4 separate regions of the Homo sapiens genome follow, and all the other regions are linked to region 3. Evidence: promoter capture Hi-C in 16 types of primary human blood cells and fetal thymus (Javierre and others, 2016). All regions are on one chromosome and are shown on one strand. Each heading gives the region's core, a stretch centred on a gene start or on the middle of the fragment in contact. The rest is flanking DNA. Distances are from core to core; before and after follow the strand shown. Region 1 has its middle 260 kb from the start of OR4E1. Region 2 has its middle 290 kb from the start of OR4E1. Region 3 holds the start of DAD1 (defender against cell death 1). Region 4 has its middle 320 kb from the start of OR4E1.

Region 1 (3,712 bases), core at 1,057-3,556, 660 kb after region 3:
TTTCTGCAGATTCTTTGGATTTTCTACTTAAACAATTATGTTGTCTGCAAATAAAGCTTGATTTATTTCTTCCTTTCCAAACTGTATGCCTTTTGTTTCTGTCTCTTGCCTTATTGCACTGGATAGACATTCTAGTACAATATTAAACAGAAACAGTGAGAGCAATAACTTTTTTCTTATGTGTGATCTTAGGGAGAAGCCTTTAGTTTTTCACCAAGTATGACACTTGACATAGGTTGTTGTAAGTTTCCTATATTAAGTTGAGAAAGTTCCTTTTAATTTCTCATTTAGAGAGAGTTTTTAATCAGGAATGGATGCTGGATTTTGTCACATGCCTTTTCTGGGTCTATTGAGAATATTCTCATTGTTAGATCATCTGCTACTTGTTAATCTTCTTTGATACATTATTGATGAATTCTCACAACAAATACTAAAGAAGCTATCACTATCACACTTTACAAAAAAAATGTAACAAAACACAAAAGTATTCAGCAAGTAAGTACATGGCAAAGTTAATAGTTTTGAACATAAATCTCATTAATAGCAAAACATGTGTTCCCTATTTTTTCCAGTATAAATTGCTTTCAGAGAAATTTCAGAGAGAAGTTAGAAGACACCAACGTGACTTTTTCCCAAGCCCTTGAAATATTTTAAGACAGCAAGTTAATAGGTGCTCTATTTATCCAAATGAAATTTTTTAAAATAATTAAATAATTTCAGGTCTCATTCTTTGACTAAAAGAGGAAAGAAAACATATTTTAAAGGATGAATAAACTGCAGTTTAGGAGCTGACCACCAGGTAGTGGCATAAGCATTCCTTTCAGACCAATTATTAAACACCTGATGAGCAATGCATGGTAGCAAGGCTGAAAAAGTTCCTAAACTTCTGTGAACCACCAGAGTACTGGAACTTTATTCATGGCCAGTGACCACTCTCTTTCTGTTCCTGGAAACTTGCTTGTGATAAAGGAGTCTAAAGCATAGTTGTTCAAATTAACCAGTATGAAAATTTCTCACATACAGGATCATAGCTTAATTCTTCCTAATGACTAACATTATTTAAAGCATTGTTTAATCTGTGCACAGTCAGTCATTGTTATGAAGCATTATTTCACAAGATTATGCAAGGTTTAAGGACATAAATGGGAATAATTTTCAAGAACATTCCAAAAATCTGAAGTCTATACAACCCATCAACTTGAACAATATTTACTGGTCCAGCAATTTCTAAAATAAAACTTGGTACACTTCACAATAAAAGAAAAATACAAAAACAATAATATGGAAGCCAAAACTTTGTCATAAATATGATTGAATAAATTTATCATTTTCCCCTTTCTTCATAGAAATAATCTAAATGCAACAAGAAATTTAAGAACAATAACACTATATCTATAATTGGGGTCAAATTAAGAGAAAGAATCCGAATATTTTTAAGAGCCAACCAAATTAAATGAGCTTGCACAAATGCACAGGTACAGTGAATCATCCTAGATCCAAATGAAACAATCCACCAAACCAGGCATTAGAACATCTTTGGCCTTCTTAAAGTTTGTTAATTTCAAGCATTATATTAATAGATTTTCAAGTATTAAATCATCTTTACATTCCCAAAATAAATTCAACTTAATTATGTTGTTTTTTTTTGTGCATGCATTTGTCCCTTCTCACTTTTTTTTTCTGGATCATGTTAGTATTGTAATTATTTTCAAAATATCATGTTGTGGTTTTATCATTGATTTTGTTATTTTCCTTTGAGCCATTAATTTCTTGCTTTTATTTTTAATTCCTTCAATCTACTCTCAACCATTTTATTTTACTGTTAATTTTATAACTTCTGGAGTTGTATATTGAATTGGCTTACTTTTATATTTCATTGTTTGCTGAAAATTCATCAATTGGAGTCAAATGACCCAAGTTTAAGTGTTGGATGTTTATTTACTAGATCTGTGGACTGAGGTAAAACTTTCTGCTTCTATATCTCTCTAGTATGGAAACCAGAGTGCACATTATTTTCTCCTGGTTTAGTATTTTCAATTACTAACTAAACATTGCTTTAAAAATATGTATCCAAATACAAATTCTTCATCTTGTTCAGCACATCATCATGTGTTAGAATATTTATTCTTAGAAGGACATCATTCTTTGACTTCTCAACATTTAAACTAAATTTTGAAGGGCCTGATGTATTAAAGATATAAAATGATTACATTATGAAGTTGATGCTTCTATGTATGCTTGAAGTTTTGCAGCCTACATGAGTTATCCTGAGGGACATGAGACAAATGTCCTGTTCTCCAATCTGCTGTCACAACACCTGAAATTCCACCATTAAATATGCTTGTAGTTAGAACTAATAAATGAATTCAACAAACTTGAAGGATACAGAAACAGCACACAAAAATCAATTGCATTTCTATAAACTAACAATGAACACTTTGGAAATTAAGAAAATAATTCCATTTGCAATAGCATCAAAAAGAATAAAATACTTAGGAATAAACTTAAACAACAATGCTAAAGACTTGCACAATGAAAACAAAAATGTTGCTGAAATAAATTAAATAAGGCACAAATAAGTTGAAAGACATCTGATATTTATGGATTGGAGAATTTAACATCATTAAAATGTCGATGCTACCAAAAGCAATCTACAGATTCAATTCAATCCCTATCAAAATCCCAATAGTGTTTTTGCAGTAATAGAAAAATCCATCCAAAAGTTCATATGGCAGCTTGTGAAACCCCAAATAGCCAAAATAATCTTGAAAAGGAACAAGTTTGGAAGGTCTAACACTTCCTGATTTCAAAGCTGATTACAAAGCTACAGTAATATAGCAAAAGCTGTGTGGTGCTTGCATAATGACAGTCATATAGACCAATGCAATACAATAGAGAGCCCAAAATTAAACCTTCACATTTACAACCAAATTATTTTAGGAAAGGGTCCTAAGACTGTTTAAGGGTGAAAGGAAAGTCTTTTCAACAAACAGTGTTGGGAAAAACTGGATATCCACATGCAAAAGAGTGAAACTGCACTCTTATCTTACAGGAAAAGCATCGCGATTTAGATTTGGCAATAATTTCTTTTTCTTTTTTTCTTTTTTTTCAGCCTTCAGAAAGCATGGAATTGGCAATAATTTCTTGGCTATAATACCAAAAGCATAGGATGCAAAAGAAAACTTAGATAAACTTGACTACATCAAAATTAAAAACTACTGTGCATCAAAGGGCACAATTAATGGAGTGACAGAGTGGATAAACAACCCATGGAATGGAAAAAAAAATATCAAATCATATATCCGACAAAAGATCAATATCCAGAATATATAAAGAACTCTTACAACTCAGCAGAAAAAAAAGACAACCCAGGCCAGGCGCGGTGGCTCACATCTGTAATCCCAGGACTTTGGAGGCCGAGGTAGGTGAATTGCTTTAGCTCGGGAGTTCAAAACCAGCCTGGGCAACATGGTGAAACACCATCTTGAAAGAAAGAAAGAGAGAAAGAGAGAGAGAGAAAGACAGACACCCCATTTCAAAATGGGCAAAGTAGTTGAATAGGCATTTTTCCAAGGAAGATATACAATTGGCCAATAAGCACAGGAAAAGATACTCATCATCACGAATTATTAGGGAAATGCAAATAAAAATCATAATGACATACTACTTCATGCCCATTAGGATGGCTACTATTCATATCAAAAATAATGAT
Region 2 (3,716 bases), core at 457-2,956, 630 kb after region 3:
AAAGTCAAAGTCAATGTATGTGTGAGAAAGGCAGAGGGGTATATATGTGTGTATGAGTTTCCATCAAATGGCAACTCTTGGGTCAGTAAGACCACTTATTTCTAATAGCCACTTTCCTGAACTAAAAAATCAGACATAACAGATTCTATTATAGAAATCTGAGTGAGATTCTTGCAATTCAGGGAGAATTTCACACTGTATAGCTCTTCTTAATGTCAGGCCACATATTCCTATACTACTCTGTTATATACAACTTTTAAAGAAATTTCTTATAACTCAAAATAAGTCTTCCAAGATGAAATGGCCTAAAATCTAGCTGAACAAAACAAACATGGTTGCAGCCCATAGCCTAAGCAATATTTTTTAACAAGGCCAGGAACTGGAGGAGCTTGGACTTTGTCATTCCATTTTGCACCAATGATGCATCTGTGCCAAAACAGCTCTTGCTTGGGTTGGTGCAATTGAGATGAACCTGCCTTTAGTACCTAGACTGTCAATAAAACCCAATGTGCCTGTTCATTTGTCCTGTCCCTCTTATTGCCTTTCTTGTATAAAGCTGATACCTAGGAATCAATCTCTAAAAGTTATAGGTTTTGTTCATCCTGACATAACCAGCAAACCAAATCTATCAGGGAGCTATCTATGCAAGAAACTCAATTGAGTCTATAGATAAACAAGGACAGACAACTACTGTTCTCTTCTGTTCCACAACGTGTTTCATGTCCTTGAAGAGGCCAACAATGAAGCAGGCTTTTTTCCACTCAAGAGCCATGTAATCGGTATTCACCAAAGATGGCTGAGGCTAACCTTTCCCATTCCCACCAACAACTACCTAGGAAATAGAATGAGGGAATAGATGCTAATATTGAAATTCCTTTCTCCAAGGGTACATTGCACTTGACAGAAACCATGACCATTTCTCGGTAAATACAAAAACCAGAGGAAAAGTGAAAGTAACACAAGCTGGCAGCCACTACAGTCTTGGAAAATTTACTAAAACAAAATCTAATATCTGAAGCAAAGTCTGTAAGAAGCACCCCTCTTTTCAAGATTTGTAACAAAGCATAATATAAATGCATCAACAGATCTAATGCTGTGGTGGACCCAAGAACCATATCAGTGCTAGCAAAATGACAGACTTTGTACAGCATCAAACCTGCCCTATGGACCATTGTTTGTCTAATTATGTCTAAAGAATATATAAAACTCTTTCATATCCCCAAAGGACAGTGTTCTGATAATCAACCAATAAGAAAAACCACTGACCTCTCCCCCACTGGTTTTACACCGTCTTCACCTTCCGCAATAGTACATTTTCTAGATATGTCTTGTGAACCTCAGAGTATTGCAAAACAAGATTTCATTTAAAAGCAATTTATCTTAAAATAAACGCTTCTGAAAATGGTGCTAATTTTGAGTCTATTTTTAAATATTTTAGTTTATATTTTAGGTACAAGAGGTACATGTGCAGGTTTGTTACATGTGTATATTACACCCAGGTGGTGAGCATAGTACTCGATAGGTACTATTTAATGCACCCCCCAGTTCCTGCTCCCTTTGGTAATCCATAGTTGTTGCCATGTTTACGTAGGTTCTGTGTTTGGCTCCCACTTATAAGTAAGAACATGTGATATTTGGTTTAACATTTCTGCATTAATTCACTTAGTATAATGGCCTCCAGATCCATTCATGTTGCTGCAAAGAAATTATTTCATTCTTTTCTGTGGCAACATAGTATTCCATGGTATATATGTACCACATTTTCTTTATCCAATCCACCATCAATGGGCACAGAGTTTTATTCCACATATTTGCTATTGTGAATACCATGGCAATAATAATAAGAAGCCATGTATCCTTTTGGTACAACAATCTATTTTCCTTTGCATATATATCCAACAATGGGAATGCTGGGTAAAATGATAGCTTCGTTTTATGTTCTTTGGGGTATCTCCAAACTGCTATCCACAGGCACTGAACTAATTTACATTCCCATCAATAGCATATAAGTGTTCCCTTTTCTCTGCAGTCTCAACAGTATCTGTTGTTTTATAATTTTTTAATAATAGCCATTCTGACTGGTGTGAGATGATATCTCACTGTGGTTTTGATGGATATCTCTCTGATGATTAGTGATGATGAGCACATAGCAAGAGAAACTCTTAGACCCTGGCCAGTGGGGAGAAGTGAGGGTCTAATGCTCTCTTTGTATGCTAGAACAAGTATAGAAAAACAAACATATTGTCTTCTGGAGCCAAGCAGCAACTCTGTGTCCTGCTATTGGTTTGTTATCTCCTCCCACATCCCAAGAAAACAGGAAAACTCTTGTGAATGTGGCTCCCAGACTATTTTATCAGTGGCAGCTTTCCAATATAGATTCCCCATCTTCATAAGTATACAAACACAAGAATCAGCACAACCTTGTCTCAAATTGACTGACACAAATGTATATGCTTCCCCTGATATCTTGACAGTTGGGTTATGTCATGAATGGCTACAGAGGTTGCAAATATTGCAAATACTCACTGACACTGCTCACGTAGTTTAACCAAAGTGATGCAATGCTTATCCAAATCAAGTTTAATAATAAATCCCAAATTTGATTAACTTGTGCATTTTGGGTTATGCCCGGGGGAAAGGGGCCATATAACATCTCTATATTGGGAATGGTAGGGTTTTTTCTTTGTGGTAATTCAAAGAAAGACCAACATTTCAGTCTGAACTTTCATGTATGGGTTATAATAGATAAAATACTACATGCTAGCTGTCTGTACTTTGGAACTTACTCACATTTGGCTGGATCAAGCATAATTAAGGTTAATACTGCATGTTGGTCTCATTCTGCTTCTTAGAGTTCTGCTGATAGTAGCCTTAATTAAATGCTACTTGAGACAAATGTAATGCATTTAGTCATGACATCTCTCAGTTACACAAATCAGAATGACTGACAAAGTGGCATACTCATAAAATAAATTTCTAGCAACTAACCCAGTGTAAGACCATGGAGTGGATATTATTGAAAGGCAGTCCACCATGAGTCTCTTGTACTCAAACGTGACTTGATGAGTGTGCCAACAGTGTAATGACATGAGCATTCTACCTGGATCACTTCTCAGAGTTATGCCAGCAAGCAACCTTGGGAGATGAGGTAATGTCTCCCTCTGAGACAAAGAGCAAGCTGGCTGAGTGCTTGTTATAAAAGCAATGAACTTCCTAAGCTCAGAGTTCCTCACCTGTGACATAATACCACTTCATGGGTAGCATCCCTTACTACCCATTACATCATCTTTTGAGGACTTAAAGGAAGGAGAAACTGATGGAAATATATCAGTGTTCATGCTGTTTGTTGTGCCATAAGTAATAAAAATCCTTTGTCTCTTACTAAGGAGCCCTGTGTTTTTATTGACAGCCTCAATGAAACAAGCTTATTAGCTTGTAAGAAGGGACAAAATCCAAGACCTGACAAATCCTCACTAAAGGAGTTGTAAAGATTTGTAAAGTAAAGATTTAAATTACACATGAGAAAGGTAAGTTTCTCCAAACTGGTATGAAACAGGCCTTTTATGAAGGATATAACATACATAGCTGAGAAAGGTAAGTTTCTCCAAACTGGTATGAAGCAGGCATTTTTCGGAGGATATAATATACATAGCCCCATGTGGTAATTAACCATCACTTCTAATAAAACGCTTGAGCAATTTTCTAATATCCTTTAA
Region 3 (3,662 bases), core at 1,163-3,662:
AGTAGGCCTTTTCTTGCTGTTTTAAGTAGTTCAGAAAAGCCCTAGTGTAGTATATTGGTGTGACTAGCAGGTCTCAGAAACAAATGCATTCAATAAGTCCATTTGGTGTTTTTCATCTCTTCTTCTCTCCTGTGAGAGTTCCTGGGGAGATCTTAATGATGATAGTTGACATGGATCAAAGGCAGACAAAACATAAGGGAGAAAACACTGGAAGGAGCCTGGCTGATGGAACAGAAACTCCCTGAAGAATCCACACCTGAATGATTAAAAAGCATCAGCCTAGCCTGTAAAGTTTGAAGTTGAATATTCGTGAGGAAGCTACCCTCCTACTTGTTGATGAGGCAGAGAGAAAGGTTCAACTTGTCAGAGAAATTGATGCTTCCTGCCATATTATATTGAAATAAGAACCAGCTTGTTATCCACTCTTTTTTTTTCTTTCTCAGCAACATAGGTTTAGGCTGAACTTATGTTCATATAGCTGCACAAATCTCCACGGGTATGAATATAAATCTATCTATTCAAATAGACTCTAAAGGTTTCTTAGGTTATTTCTCTTCTTTCTAGAACTTAAGTAAGGCTTTGATCACCACTGATAATACATCCGTTAGTTAATGCGTGTAGAGTTTCCAGTCTAAAGGCAAATAAAAAGTGAAAAGGGGCCGGCGCAGTGGCTCACTCCTATAATCCCAGCACTTTGGGAGGCTGAAGCAGGCAGATCACCTGAGGTCAGGAGTTCAAGATCAGCTTGGCCAACATGGCGAAACCCCGTTTCTACTAAAAATACAAAAATTAGCCGGGCGTGGTGGCAGGTGCCTCTAATCCCAGCTACTCGGGAGGCTGAGGCAGGAGAATGGCTTGAACCCAGGAGGTGGAGGTTGCAGTGAGCCGAGATCGCACCATTCACTGCACTCCAGCCTGGGTGACAAGAGCAAAACTTCATCTCAAAAAAAAAAAAAAAAAAAAGTGAAAAGGCAGGAACGCTGTTGTTCACCTGCTGTTTTAGGAATTTTGCTCACGTACAGTTCAAAATATTAAGAAGCTGAAAATAAAGTACCTGGTCATGTGTGGAAAAACTTACAGCTAAAAGGTGAGATGAACTGGGTCTAGAAGGTCGGATTCACGTGAAATTAAAAGGGCAACGAAAGCCAGAACTTAATTTCTTAAAAAAAGTTAAAACAGGCCGGGTGCAGTGGCTCATGCCTGTAATCCCAGCACTTTGGGAGGCCGAGGCTGGCGGATCACAAGGTCAGGAGTTCGGGACCAGCCTGGCTAACAATGGTGAAACTCCGTCTCTACTGAAAATACAAAAATTAGCCGGGCGTGGTGGCGCGTGCCTGTAGTCCCAGCTACTAGGGAGGCGGAGGTTGCAGTGGGCCGAGATCGCGACACTGCACTCCAGCCTGGCCGACAGAGCAAGGCTCCGTCTCAAAAAAAAAAAAAAAAACAGTTAAAACCCTCAAAATAATCCCACTTGTTAAAATACAAAACCTGAAACCATTTCAGTTTCTTCTGCAAAATGAGTTGGAGAGAGTAGGGTTGAACCAGGCATGCTCTTTCGGGCCTTTCGACGCTGACATCCCGGGATATTACACCAGGTTCAAGATACCAGCTTGCGGAAAGAGAGCTGCTAAACTTGACCATATGCTTTTTGCACGACATTCGACAGCTGTCCCTCCCTTCACCAGCTCTTTTAAGGCTGCAAATATATCTGATTCACGTGAGAGTCCCTACAAGTTAGTACAACGTCAGGCCCCAAGGAGGCGCCCAATAAATGTTGGCATTGCAGGGCCAGATCCCGAGTTCCAGTTCAGAACCCTGCTGAGGTCAGGCTTCCTCCCTGCCTCCCGCCCCTCACCACACCCACTCACTCCCCCAAGTAATTAAGTCTAAACTGGGGCCTGTGCAGTGATTGGCCGCGCCGGGTCTCACTGCGGATGAACTTGACTTGTTCCAATGATCTGTGACAGACATCTGCAGACAGCGCCCTTAACAGAATTAGGGTCAGGCTGGTATCAAACCCCAGGAACGCCAGGCATTGCCTCAAAGTAGATGCAAACCGTTAAATCTTCCAGGACTCAGAAGGACCAGAGAGAGCCGGATACCTCTGGTTAGCTACGCGGTCCCCAGTAAAGCTTATTCCCCTCTTCCTCCCAGTGTGTCTTGTTGCCAGAGCAACTGTGGGCGTCACCGAGCTGACGGGCGGAAACAGAACAGAAAGAGTACACGTCCCCAGCTCATTGATAGGGCCATTGCGCAGACGCATTAACTTTTCTGAGTTGTAGTTGAGTCTGTTGATGCAGTCCGCGTCTGCGCATTAGTTGTTACGCGCCCTGGCCGGCCTCAGCGCCTGCGCAAATTGGCACACCGGGGAGGGCGGAGTTAGGTCACGAGGGTGCGCATGCGCAAACAGCACATCCGGTGTGGTCGACGGGTCCTCCAAGAGTTTGGGGCGCGGACCGGAGTACCTTGCGTGCAGTTATGTCGGCGTCGGTAGTGTCTGTCATTTCGCGGTTCTTAGAAGAGTACTTGAGCTCCACTCCGCAGCGTCTGAAGTTGCTGGACGCGTACCTGCTGTATATACTGCTGACCGGGGCGCTGCAGTTCGGTTACTGTCTCCTCGTGGGGACCTTCCCCTTCAACTCTTTTCTCTCGGGCTTCATCTCTTGTGTGGGGAGTTTCATCCTAGCGGGTAATGGTTCTATAAGTGATCATAATAATAATGTGTTACTTTGGTGTGCTGCTTTTGTTTTCATAGTACTCTATATCAGACCACCGCCCCTTGAAGTTATGAGAAGAGCCTGCATTGCCCTTTTGTTGTGAATGGGGAAATTGAGGCTCAGAAAGCTTAGATTATATGCCTAATACCAAACGGCTCCGTAGGAGTTGGACTTAAAAGTCTAAAGAAACCACCTTCGTGCCGCTACTCCACTTGGTGATCCACTTCACTTAATATTGGTCCGGGGAAAACCCTATTCCAACTTTAACTTAGGTTTAACACAACTCTAAAATTAGTAGACTTTTCAAATGAAAAACCCAACCTTGAATCATCTCTGTCATCTTGGCCTAATCATTACCAATCTCCGGTGAAACGTTTCAATGAAAGTGCAAAGAATATAAATACTGGTGCTTTTCTTGTTGAATCATCCTTTACTTGATTTTGCCTTTTAGCTGCTACTACTTTTTTTCTTGTTGAGGAAGCTGTTATTTCACTGTCCTGAACCCAATTTTTGTTCACATAACTCTATTTTAGCCTTATTTTTCCTTTTGATTCCAGGATTTGGTAACCTTGTAGACTGCTATATTTAGCGAGAACAGTCTCCATCAATTTTTGTTAAAATCTGACTTTTCTTGCCCAACGGGGATTCAGTGAATACTGAAAACAGGCGTGGCCTCTATCACTGGTATCACCTGCTACTTTGACTTTGAAAACATGCCAGCATTCATGGTTTCTTTTCAGTGTGATCATCAGTCAGGTCATCAGTTGTATTTTCAGTCCAATATGAGGCATTATGGTAAAAGCTTTGGCACATGTTCTTTATCCGTAAAGAGTTTATGGTCTAGTTGGGGTACAGACAAAATACAGCATTGGAATTGTCTGGAGGCCTGGCACAGTGGCTCATGCCTGTAATCCCAGTACTTTGGGAGGCCGAGGTAGGCAGATC
Region 4 (3,472 bases), core at 756-3,255, 600 kb after region 3:
TAGGTATTTTTCTGCTTGTCAGTATTTTTCTCTGGCACCTCAGCAAACTACTCCACTATGCAGCAAGCTCCAGCTACACACTCTCAATGAGATCTGAATCATAGCCTTGGCAGGAGGGGTCATGCTTATGCCAATCTGTTCCTTTCCTGGGATTCTACCTTAGTCCTAGAGACAGGAACTTCTGCTTACATGTGCATTCCTATATTCCTTAGAGGTTTTTTTACCCATTAGTAGTTAATTACTTATTATTATTTAATAAATCTTTATATTAAACTTCACTGGGCTTCTTTTTTCCTGGCTGGACACCAATTGAGATAGGAGGAGTCTATGAAACTCATGGAAAGAAGGGTAATAGATATAGAAAGATGAACAATCATAAGCCATGAAACAGCAGAGCACTTTGAGGAACTATGCTCAGGTATGTGGTGACAACCACATGTGGGGATCACGTGGGGCAGCAGAGGAGTTGAAGAGGTAGGACTGCACCATGGAAGCCTGGACAGTACCTCTGAACAAAGAAAAGAATACTTTTTATGCAGTGCAATATAGTTTTTATTTCGAAAGTATGTTTCCAGTACTACTAGACAAAATAAATACATTTACTATTTTTAAATTTAATTTAAGCAGGGTAAATAATGAGAATTTTTTGGACAAAATTATGAGGTTAATCTATAGCTAACTGATGACTGATGATATAATATCTACGAGATAAACTCAATATTAATTTCTGGAGAAAGAATGCCCTGCTGTGGCCATACAGAGAGTTTGCAAAGAAATATTTCCTGTATTTAAAGGGTTTGTGTTCTGCTTCCTTGCAAAACCAGCTACTGTGCCACTTAGAGCACAGTAATACATGGCTGAGTCTTCCTCTTGAGCAAATGGTTTCTTCAGGTGGAAAGATGTCTCGCCTTTGTTAAGGTCAGCAGTGAAGCCTTTGATGCTCTCTCTAGAGATGTGTCTCAAGAGTAACTGGAGGCGTTGTCTGGAGTACTGGACATACCAGAAGAGTTCAGGACTCCCAGAATAGGAATAGTTGCACTTCAGCTCCACTGGGGCCCCTTTAAAGACAGAGAGGAGCTTCTCGGGCTGAGTCACTCTCTGGGCTCTTGTTCCTCCTATAACACCAATTCTGGATCAGGAAAAGTCTTACAGACTGGGGATAATATTCATTAAAGTTATTCTAAATCAGAATACCATAGAAAAATAGAACAAAAAGAGGCTTTACTTACTGAGTATAAATATTATCACAAGCACTGAGATGAGGGTGGGCTTCATGTCTGACCTGTGGAGAAACAGGAAGCTATTTTCTGGAGGTCTTTTCTGGAAACGATTCAGCCACATAGACACTCTGACAGAGAGGTGGATGAGTTTACCCGGCATGTATAGCCAAAAGCTATTCTTCAAAAAGATCAGGTTGTTTTTGGCTATCAAATTCAATTTGTGTAACATCTCTCTCTAGAGGCCAAATACAATACTGCAGCTAACTCAGGCTTCAGGAAGCCTTCAAATTCAGAGAATGAGAATTTCCTCCTCAGTAAAAGTGTGATGCTATACTAATTGCAATAGAATGTTATTTTTAAAATCCACATATAGGGCTTAATGAAGTAGAATACAAAGTTCAAATATACAAATACATTTGGAAACTTAGTTAAAATGGGGGAAAATGTGCAATCCTAACAATCATTTGGAAGTTAACAGATAAGTTAGGATGCCTACCTTAATACCTGTTATCAAATAAAGTTCAAAGGACGTAACATTTAATATTTTAAGTAAAATAAAAAATTTTTAAAATAAATTTAGAATGGTGATGGATTTTCTAAGCATAACAGTCAAAAAACATAAGAAAAAATATTGATCGATTACACTTCATAGAAATTTAAATTTCTACACAGATATTTTAGTGAAATGTTTAAACATTGCCAGATCAAGTTATTTTATTTTCCGTCCACCATCATTGATTCTGACCTTCCCCACACAGGAAATGGCCCTTTGGGATTTTAGTTCTATACACTTTAAAAAAAAAAAAAGAAAAAAGAAAAGAAAAGAAGGCCATAAAAAAAGGAACAATCATTTGGCTCAGAAAGACGGAAATTCTAGAAAAATGGTAGATTGAAAGAGTCCCCAATCCCTGGTCCTTAACCAAAGATTTTCTCCAGCTCCCAGTCAAGCTGTGTTGAGAGAGCTCAAGTGAGGTGTCCCATTTTGGGGTCAGATATAAATCTGGGGTCAAGTAGACAGAAGCTCCGGGATTAAGAGCAGAAAACTATGGGTCATGGAGATAGCGTCTCCGGCAGATATATTTTTTTCTAAAAAAGAAAACTAATTCTCTTGAGAAAGTCTCTCCTCTGGCCTCCAAATAGCTGAGAAAAAAGTAAGAGATATGCTGTTACTTAAATGAGGTGGAATACAATGAGATCAGGGAGCAAAGAGATTTTCCTCTAGTTTTCCTGCAGTGTACGGGCGTAATTGCTGACGTCAGTACCCTGCTGAGTGCCGCACTGCTGACTAGAGACACAGAAATGTCTAGGTTTTTATGCTCTCAGGATTGCCTCCACTTAAAGTACCCAGTAATCGGACAAGTCAGGAGGGGAGTGAAGAAAGGGAAAAGATATCTCAGAGACAAATGGGAGCCTCATCTGGATCAAGTACAGCCTGAAAAAATTATCAGGGTCAGTGGCCCAATTTCCTTAGCCAAAAAATCAGGACATGTGATTTGAAAAGTGATTGTGATTTTATTTATAAGAAAGCTCTCACAAAGAAAGAATATCTCATCGAATGCATCGTTTATTTAATCACCCTTAAAGGAGTAAATACAATACAATTAAATTAAGAGAATTCTGTTAACATAGGACATATAGTCATCATGAACATATAAAATGTCTCCAGTGAGACTTTGGTTGATAGAGAAATAGCACGTGTATATGATGGCCACCCCAGCTTATTTCCATCTCTCTTCTTCTATCCAACACTTCTCCATTCACTTTGCAGCCCCACCTGGTCAATTCTGCTCTGTGAACAAGAGGTAGAGGTCACATTTTTTATTGTGGTAAAAAAACACATAACATTAAATTTACCATCTTGACTATTTTAACATGTACAATTCAGTAGTGGTAAGTATCTTCACATTGTCGTGCATCAGATCTCTAGAACTTTTTAACCTTGCAACACAGAAACTATATGAGGCATAGACCACATTTTGAAATTCAGTTAAATGTGTCATCTTTTTTTCCCCCAACCTCTTATTTCTTTTACTCTCTTTTATCCTCTCTCTGAATATTTTCATTATTTTTTTCTCATTTCTTCTCATTTCCTTTTTCTTGTTTTTCTAGTTTCAAAGGAGGTATAAAAGAAGGTGGAAATTATTGAAATAATTTCAAAGTCAGAATGGAGACTCATATTTTAGAAGTTTTAGTCATAAAAATTAAAGCTGTAAGGCTTCCAGCTTTATCATTTCCCTTGTTGATTTCTAAGA

What was found. The method cuts DNA at HindIII sites, captures the fragments that hold promoters and counts their contacts. A CHiCAGO score of 5 or more calls a contact.
Region 1: a fragment that was not itself captured here is called in contact with the fragment with the promoter of DAD1 in region 3 in 1 of 17 cell types (activated CD4 T cells); the score reaches 5.5 in activated CD4 T cells.
Region 2: a fragment that was not itself captured here is called in contact with the fragment with the promoter of DAD1 in region 3 in 1 of 17 cell types (total CD4 T cells); the score reaches 5.0 in total CD4 T cells.
Region 4: a contact is called between a fragment that was not itself captured here and the fragment with the promoter of DAD1 in region 3, in 2 of 17 cell types (activated CD4 T cells and non-activated CD4 T cells). The highest score is 5.1, in activated CD4 T cells.

The regions. Positions count from the first base shown.
Region 1 is chr14:21,930,974-21,934,685 of GRCh38, reverse strand. It overlaps TRA. Among named protein-coding and RNA genes, the nearest start is that of OR4E1, 260 kb to the right of the region's middle. The HindIII fragment of the contact is 4,495 bases long and covers 59-3,712 here.
Region 2 is chr14:21,960,345-21,964,060 of GRCh38, reverse strand. It overlaps TRA. Among named protein-coding and RNA genes, the nearest start is that of OR4E1, 290 kb to the right of the region's middle. The HindIII fragment of the contact is 3,440 bases long and covers 1-3,426 here.
Region 3 is chr14:22,587,974-22,591,635 of GRCh38, reverse strand. DAD1 (defender against cell death 1) reads left to right here and starts at 2,412. Exons shown (of 3, transcript NM_001344.4): 1 at 2,412-2,689. The coding sequence starts at 2,479. RefSeq lists enhancers at 2,132-2,773, 2,774-3,415. The HindIII fragment of the contact is 712 bases long and covers 2,135-2,846 here.
Region 4 is chr14:21,988,299-21,991,770 of GRCh38, reverse strand. It overlaps TRA and TRAV16. Among named protein-coding and RNA genes, the nearest start is that of OR4E1, 320 kb to the right of the region's middle. The HindIII fragment of the contact is 4,471 bases long and covers 1-3,472 here.